Regions from separate parts of the Homo sapiens genome. Here all the other regions are linked to region 3. The links are contacts of gene promoters, found by promoter capture Hi-C in blood cells and fetal thymus (Javierre and others, 2016). All regions are on one chromosome and are shown on one strand. The core of a region is centred on a gene start or on the middle of the fragment in contact, and the rest is flanking DNA. Distances in the headings are between cores, read along the strand shown.

Region 1 (2,848 bases), core at 111-2,610, 290 kb before region 3:
GAAGATAATTTAGATTATCTAGTATGTAGCTCATACCTTGTCTGAGTCAGCTAAGCATGGTCTAGAAAGAAGAGCTATGGCTGTATTGCTAATCATTTGCCTTTGTTCATTTATTCAACAAATAGTTATTAAGTATCTGTTATGCACCTCTGTGCTGCAGGTGCAATAAACAACATAAATAAAATCCCTGCTTTATTATGTTGCTCCTGGGTAACACAGATAAAGAATAAACGAATTAGGCCATATCAGATTGTATGAAGTACTGTAGAGAAAAATACATCAGGAAAAGAGTGAGGAGGTACTAGGGGTATGTTGCCCTTTTATATAGGATGGTCACAAAAGATCTTCATTGACAGTGTGATATGACATCAAAGAGAAAACTAGCCATTTGGATACGAGGGAAAGTGTGTTCCATAAACTGCAAATGCAAAGGCCCTGAGGTAGGAGTGTGCTTGACATCTTTAAGAAGCAGTAAAAAGGAGAGTATGGCTAGAGTGAAGTAAGGGAGGGGCAGAGTGGTAGAAGATGAAGTCTGAAAGGTGGCAGGTGTCTTATAAGCCATTTTAAAGATGTTGGTTTTATAATAAGGGAAGCTACTGGAGGATTTTAAGCAGAGGAGTATATGATCTGACCTAGATTTTAAAAGGATGTTCCTGTGTCTAAAAATAAAAACAAAATAAAACTGGAAGACCAGTTATAAAGCTGTTGCCATAATTTAAGAAAGAGGTAAAGGTGGTTTAGACAAAGATGATAGCTACACAGGTGACCACGAATGGTTAAATTCTTGAAGAGAATTCTAGTAAGAGAAATATAAGACTGTCCTCTGTTTCAAATTTATGTCAATGAAACCGTAACTTATTTCCTTTAGAAAAATAATTCCTGTATTGTTGTTTTCCATACTTTTCTTTCGCGTGAGGACCATGGCCCTATATTTTTAATTAGGTCATCCTAAAACAATGTAGAATTAATGCTGATGGCTGAATTACCTGTAATTTTCCTGCTTTCTGTTTTGGTTTTGGTAAAATGCTCCTATTTTGGTAACTAGGAATTAACTGCATAATTGAAGGGAGAAATGGGACATATAATTCAGTTTCTTATACAAAGAAGGCCAGTTAACATATTGAAGGTTTGAACAATCAGAGAAGTAAGTTAAAAAGTACAGCTTAGAGCAGGAAGTCATTAACAGGTGATGTTTCCTATTATAGATACATAAAATAATGGCCTTGTAGTCCTTATTTTTATCCCTTTAATTCAAAAAGCATTTCCTAAATACTACATCATGTGCCTGGTGAACAACAATTATGCAACAAAAAACATTTTGGGCTGGCCGCAGTGACTCACACCTGTAATCCCAGCACTTTGGGAGGCCAAGATGGGAGGATCACTTGAGGCCAGGAGTTTGAGACCAACCCTGGCAACACAGCAAAACCTCTTTTCTACAAAAAATAGAAAATGTAGCCAGGTGTAGTGGCATGTGCCTGTAGTCCCAGTTACTCAGGAGGCTGAGGTGGGAGGACTGCCTCTCTGCTTGAGCCCAGGAGTTTGAGGCCGCAGCGAGCTATGATGGCACCACTGTACTCCAGCCTGGACCACAGACTGAATTCCTGTTTCAAAAGAAAAAAAAAAATTTTTTTTTAAGTTCTTTCTTTCCAGGCTGGGTGCAGTGGCTCACGCATGTAATCCCAGGACTTTGGGAGGCCAAGGTGGGTGGATCGCTTGAGTCCAGGAGTTCGAGACCTGCCTGGGCAACAAGATGAAACCCTGTTTCTACAAAAAAAATACAAAAATTAGCCAGTTGTGGTGGCACTTGCCTGTAGTTCCAGCTACTCGGGAGGCTGAGGTGTGAGGATCACTTGAGCCCAGGAGGTGGAGGTTGCAGTGAGCCAAGATTATGCCACTGCACTCCAGCCTGGGTGACAGAGTGAGACTCTGTCTCCAAAAAAAAAAAAAAAAAAAGGATATTTTTGTCCAAAGAACAAGGTTATCTTTTGACTATAAGAATCTTGGCCAGGGGCGGTGGCTCACAACTGTAATCCCAGCACTTTGGGAGGCTGAGGCGGGTGGATCACGAGGTCAGGAGTTCAAGACCAGCCTGGCCAAGATGGTGAAACCCGTCTCTACTAAAATTACAAAAAAATTAGCTGGGTGTGGTGGCAGATGCCTGCAATCCCAGCTACTCAGGAGGCTGAGGCAGAGATTTGCTTGAACCCGGGAGGTGGAAGTTGCAGTGAGCCAAGATCGCACCACTGTACTCCAGCCTGAGCGACTGAGCAATACTCTGTCTTTAAAAAAAAAAAAAAAAAGAATCTTGAAGTCAGGGTCCATATTTTATTCATATTTAAATCCCTAAAGTCTAAAATAGTTCTTCATTCACGATAAGGACTTAGTATATATTTGTTGATTTTGACAGAAGGGATTCATATTCTCCTGACTGGGAATCTACTAGATGGAGCCCATACTAGTAGCAAATAAGTTTTCTAAATCTCATTTAAGTTACTGATTTTTGAAATTTTAAAATATCTTTTGTGTTACTGGAGAAGATACTGAAAATCATGATTTCAAATAATGATGAGTTTGACAGTTTAAAAAATTGTCAAGCTCAAGTCAGAAAACTTGAAGTTTTCTTAGTTCTTACTTATTATTTTTGTTGTTGTTTTTTGAGACGGAGTTTTACTTTTGTTGCCCAGGCTGGAGTGCAATGGTGTGATCTTTATCTCGGCTCACTGCAACCTCCACCTCCTGGGTTCAAGTGATTCTCCTGCCTCAGCCTCCCAAGTAGCTGGGATTACAGGCATGCCCCACCATGCCTGGCTAATTTTTGTATTTTTAGTAGAGATGAGGTTTCACC
Region 2 (2,859 bases), core at 312-2,811, 270 kb after region 3:
AATAGGAACATTGCTCTCATTGTTATATGGAAGCCTTGTTACTTGGCTGCAGACAGTGCTATATCTAGTTAGTATACCTTGCATTTTTTTCTTGCAGCACAATGAAAAGGTTACTATACTAATTTCTTAAATTTTAAAGACTAGCAAAATGCCTTTTGTGATCTTAATAGCCATAAGGATAGGCAGGCCGGTTTAGATGACCAGTTAAAGCCGGTTTAGATGACCACCTATTATATGACGTGTTTCTTGCAATTAATTATCAAAAGAGTTGAATCTAATAGTTCTGAATTTCCAAACTAATTTATATTTTAAGTGAAAGGTTTTCCAAAATCTCCGCAAGTAGTTTGTTTCTTAGTAGTGGACTTAGTGATATACTAGTTGTTTTTTTTTTTTTCTTATTTGTCTCTAGGAATTTTTGTTATCTCCTCTCTCTACCCAGTTTTTAAAAGTTTATCCAGAAACAATAACTTTTTCCATTTTTAACATTAGTTCATTTACAGATATTCACCTTACCTTGGTCATAGGTCAAAAGCAGGATAAACCACATTGTTAATATAGTAATGTAGGAGTACAGTCAATCCTTCATATCCTTGGGTTTTGTGTCTGCAGATTCAGCCAACCATGGATTGAAAATATTTGGGGGGAAAAACAATAACAAATAACAATATAACAATAAAAAATACAAATAAAAAACAATACAATATAACAACTATTTACATAGCATTTACATTGTATAAGTGATCTGAGCATCTGAGGATTTTGTTATTCCTGGTGGAGGTTTGGGGAGGTAGGGGCGACCTGTGGGGTGGGGGCAGGTTCTGTAACCAATCCCCTACCAATACCAGGGAATGACTGTACTGCTTTGTGGTCTTACATAGACTTTTTTTTTATAGTATGTATCAAATTCATTTTCTTAAAGTATGAATTCTTAAAGTTCTTTCCCAGTAAATTCATTTTTAAAAAAAGGTTCAAATAAAACACTTGGCAGTCAGTACAAAGTTTGCTTATTGTAAGCAATTAGTTGAATTTTCAGTTTAGTGCTAATGAGTTTTAGTTTGAGTCTAATCCCTCCTTACCATCATTTTATTCTAGTTTATTCATCTGGTCAGATAGCCATTTCATGCATATGTGCTTTTTGGTTACTGTTGAATAAAATATGTGATTGGTTCAGTTTGAGTCCATCATCATTCTTAGAAAAATAATTATTAAACTACAGAGGCTCAGATTCTTGCCCTGTTTTTGTCACATTTTGGCAAAACACTTTGCCTCTTTGGGCATCATGTATTTATTCAGCGAATATTTATTGAGCATCTACTTTGTGCCTGGCATTGTCCTAGTTTCTAGAAATATAGACTAATCTCTGCTCTTATGGAACTTACATTATATTTGTGAAAGACAATAAAAGTAAATAAAACATATAATATGTTAGATGATGATCAATACTATGGAGAAATATGAATCAGAGAAGGGTGATAAAGGAGTATGGGGTAGGTGTTGGAAGGCTGCCATTTTTAATTTAGTGAGGCCTCACTGAGAGATGACATTTGAGTGAAGACATGAAACAGGCAAAGTCAAACTCAGTCATGAAATTGTTCTTTTCTGTTTCTCCCTTACCTCCATTTCTCCCCTCCTCTGTTTTCTTGTATATCTACCTGGATGGATGAATTATAACAAAATAGAAGTAAAGGTTTGAGTTTTGTAAGTTTCTTTTTCTTGACAAAAAGTTGAGAATAGAATGATAATTTCCTCTAACAGATCTTGAGAGTGTAAGAATCTGTGGTAAATACATAATAACTCAAGTTTGCTAAACTAGGCTACTTAACTGGTTGCCTATTTTATTGTTGAATCAAATATCCTAAAAGCCACAATTTCAAGAGATTTTAAAAGTTGATTTAGTTCTCTGAGTGACATCCATGTTTGTTCTAAGCAAAGTACAATGGGAAAGACATTGACAGTCAAAATATTAGAGTTAAAGGACCCAGCTGCCTCACTAACTTTATTTAAGGTACAGTTACTTCAGTTTCTTTTTCTGTGAAATCGAGTTGAAAATATCTTTGTTTTGAAGATGTTAGAAATATGTAAAATGTGTTTTACAGATGTTAATGTGTGTATTATACTTTATTAAATCCCCCTAATTTAATGAGCTTTATACTTAGCACCAGTAGTAACTACATGGCTCATTCACAGTATGATATAGACAACCTTCCCATATATTCTTTGTCACTGAACATTGACACCCTACTTTTTATGTGTGCAAGATTCTGTGTCAGGTGTTGGAAACATGAATAAAACATGGTTTATAGCACCAAAGCAATTACAGAATAAGGGAATTAGAAATGTAGACACTGAATCCACATTTTTTACAGGGACTATAGTCAACTGATTTCATAATCAATTAAACCACTAATATCATGTATATATTGCATTATGGGATTTTTTTTGTGAAATGCTGTATCAGAAGAGAATCTGGACCTATTCTCAAGGTGAAATAGCACTTTATTCTGCTATTCTCAAACCAGTAAGTCATTAATTATCTTTCATAAATGTAAGCAGTAAGTAAACTCTTAGGAACAGAATGGCAGCCTTTTTCTATAAATCTTATATTTTAAAATATTATTTCTGTTAAGAGATACTTACTGTCATTGAACCTGTGACCATTGAAGATATATAAGGGTTCATTCCATTATTTTCCTGTGAAATTTTGAACTTACTTGGAGGAATTATTGGCTCTGGTCATAATCCTAAATTATAACTCTGTAGCTCTTATGTGTTCAAAATTGTTGGGAGACTTCATTTCATTAATTTAGCAAGATTAAAAAAAAAAAACAAACTGATCTATTGAGTTCATTTTGGGCTTGT
Region 3 (2,822 bases), core at 269-2,768:
CTTGGGGGAGCTGGACTCCAGCCCTGAGAACTACTGCTTAAGCAGAAAGCAGATGGAGTTCACGCTGCCTAGTCTCCACGTTGCTTCCCCTCACCCTTTATTTAAAAGAAACAAACAAACAAACAAACAAAAACCTCAGCAGAACCCCAAGATGCCATGGAAAGCTCTCATACCGCACTGAAGTCCAGTAGGTCGCTCAGCTCCTTGTCGGTCCCTATAGCGGCCATGCGTTGTTGCTGGGGATTCATCTTCGGCCACTTCTAGCAGGTCCTAGGGCAGAGGAAACGGGCTCAGCGAGAGACCACCGAGGCCCAAAGTGTGTGAGGGAACAGAGAGAGGTACTGGGGAAGATTACGCAAGAGCGCTGGGGGCGCCGGGATGACTTCCAGGACCCCGACTCGCTCCCACCGCGGCGCGAGCAAGGGGCGGGAGGGCTCAGTGCCCGCGCCGGGTCCCGGAATCCACGCGTTCCTCGCCGCGGCCCGAGATCGACGCGGCGGCTCCCGCAACTCGCCGCCTCTCCCCCAAGTTTCCGAGCCAGTCTCTGCCACCTCCTCGGCGCCCCCTGCTCCGCGCCGCCGCCGGGTGCTCCGCGCGCCGGGCCCGGCCGCGGCTGGGGTCTCGAGGAGCGGGGTGAGGGGCAATTCGGCGTCCAGCGAGCGGAGCGGCGGCGAGCGGAGATGCGAAGTGACTCACTCGCTCGGCAACAATAGAACTGACAAGTTGCAGGGAACGCGCCGCTCGCAGGCCCGCGTCTGCGGCCGCCGCCGCCCGGACGTCCCCGGCGGGCCCAGGAGGTCGGAAAGCACCCCCAGCTCATCCAAGGGGCGTTTTTAAACAGAAAACAGAAACCCCGACAACTAGTCTCGCTCTCGGCCGGCGTCCTCCTCCCCAGGCTCGGCCTCCTCCCACTTTTGCTGCCCTGCCCCGGACCTGCCGAACAATGAGCCTGGCTCCGCGGCCGAAGCCGCCCGATCTCCCGCGCGCCCCGGAGCCTGGGCGCCGGCCCGAGTCGGGCACCGAACGGGGCGCACAGGCCGAGCGCGCCGCCAGCGGGCCTGAGCGCCCGCGACTCGAGCCTCCGCCCCCACTCCGCTCCCCAACTTGGAGGGGACCCCGGGTTTCGCGCTGTACAAAGGGGCGCGGAGTTGAGGCGGGGGACGGGGGCGCCCCCACTCCGGCAGGGACGCGGCGGCGCCCCGCAGCCCCCAGCCCCGCCGCGCCGCCCCACTCCCGCTCGCTAGCCCGCAATTACCTGCCGCCCCGTCTCCGCATCCAACCACCCCGATTAAAGTTCACTTTGGCCGGGAGAACGGGCTTGGGCTTCCCCTTGCACCGCCCAGCGGCTCGGTTCACTTTGCCCCGCACGAGCTCTCGGGTCTGGGAGGGGGAGGCGGCTTTCGGGCCTGGCCGCCCCTTCCTCCCGGGGCGGGCTGTCGGTCCCCCCGAATAGAACTTGTGGGTCTCTTCAGGCGGACATTTTTTTCGCTGAGGCGGCCTCACCACCGCGCTCGGCTCGCCTCCGGATCCCTCCGCGCCGGGAAGAGCCGCGGGTTAACCCTTCCCTCCCCGACCCGCTCCGCCGCCTAGGAAGTGGGGCCGGCAGAGGGGGCGGGGAGGAGCTGTCGGGGACTGGGAGGAGCCGCACCGCGGCGGGTGGACAAAGCCCGCGGTCGGGTGAGGCGGGACGGAGTTGGGGCCGGTGGGGAGGGGCATGAGGCGCTCGCAGGCACCTCGAGAAGCAGGCCCCGACCGCTCGCCGACGAAGCCTCGTCCGGGCCTCCTGGGAGCGGGGTGGCAGGTACCGTGGCGCCTCCTCGCGTTGGTCTTGCTGGTTCTCGGCCCCCGAAGCGGAGCGACGGAGACACAGCTGTGGAAGCATCTGGATCCGCTGCCCAGGTCCCCGAGCTTCCCGGAACCCGAGGCCGCAGGACACTGAAGGCTGCCATTCCCGAGTAGGTCACGCTGGACGCCACCCTAAGCTGGGCCCAGAGGCTCCCGTCCAGGAGGGCTGCAGTCGGCGCAGACACCGCGCGTGTGGAGACGGGAGACCCATCCTCCTCGGCCGTTCCGAGAGTAGGCGCGGCCGGTCAGATTCGATGCAGAGCCGAATGCGGGAGAAAGGGCAAAACGTACCTCAAACCAGACAAAGCCTTGTGAGCTTCAGGTTCTCAAATACCCCACTCACCCAGACCCCACATCTCCAGTCAGCCCCTCGCACCCAAATCCCATTCGGAGCAACCGAACTGCACGTGGGACTAGTTCTTGGGAATGGATCAAGCCAGTCTCTTCATCTAACGGAGACAGCCCTGGGTGGCTCTGTCACACAGCCACTGTCTTGTGCACAAGTTCTGAACTTGGCCTCAGAGAAGCCCCAGAGTAGAAAGAAGACAAAATAAGCCCCAGTTCTTCGATTCTGGGCTGAAGTGAGATTTTCTTGAATGGCAGCCATTGTTTTGCCTCTTAGGTAAGTGAGTGCAGTAAAGACCGGTAAGGCCCACGCAGAAGAAACACTGAGGAAAGAAGACACTTCCAAAGTAACAAATGGGAGGAAGCAGCCAACGCCCGAGGACAACATGGCAAGAAGGAGCCTTTGGATTCCGGACTGGGATGGAAAGAGAGGTAGATTCAGCTACCATATGCCATTACTGTAGTTAGTACAGTTGTCTCTATATCCGTGGGATTGGTTCCCAGACTCTGGATTTTCTAAGATGTTCAAGTCTCTTACATAAAAATGGTGTGTTTCCCCATATACTTTAAATCATATCTAGATTACTTATAAAACCTAATACAATGCAAATGCTATGTGAATAGTTGTTAAG

What was found. The method cuts DNA at HindIII sites, captures the fragments that hold promoters and counts their contacts. A CHiCAGO score of 5 or more calls a contact.
Region 1: a contact is called between a fragment that was not itself captured here and the fragment with the promoter of TCF12 in region 3, in 4 of 17 cell types (activated CD4 T cells, naive CD8 T cells, non-activated CD4 T cells and 1 more). The highest score is 6.8, in activated CD4 T cells.
Region 2: a fragment that was not itself captured here is called in contact with the fragment with the promoter of TCF12 in region 3 in 1 of 17 cell types (fetal thymus); the score reaches 9.2 in fetal thymus.

Annotation. Positions count from the first base shown.
Region 1 is chr15:57,207,489-57,210,336 of GRCh38, reverse strand. All of the region lies in intron 8 of TCF12 (transcription factor 12), which reads right to left. Among named protein-coding and RNA genes, the nearest start is that of SNORD13D, 70 kb to the left of the region's middle. The HindIII fragment of the contact is 5,108 bases long and covers 1-2,848 here.
Region 2 is chr15:56,649,577-56,652,435 of GRCh38, reverse strand. All of the region lies in intron 19 of ZNF280D (zinc finger protein 280D), which reads left to right. Among named protein-coding and RNA genes, the nearest start is that of ZNF280D, 83 kb to the left of the region's middle. The HindIII fragment of the contact is 4,877 bases long and covers 1-2,859 here.
Region 3 is chr15:56,917,340-56,920,161 of GRCh38, reverse strand. TCF12 (transcription factor 12) reads right to left here and starts at 1,518. Exons shown (of 21, transcript NM_207037.2): 1 at 1,256-1,518; 2 at 174-270. The coding sequence starts at 248. It overlaps TCF12-DT (TCF12 divergent transcript), which reads left to right and starts at 1,663. Exons shown (of 4, transcript NR_015419.2): 1 at 1,663-2,622. RefSeq lists silencers at 479-918, 969-1,258, 1,349-1,398, 1,569-1,698, 2,219-2,358. The HindIII fragment of the contact is 11,533 bases long and covers 1-2,822 here.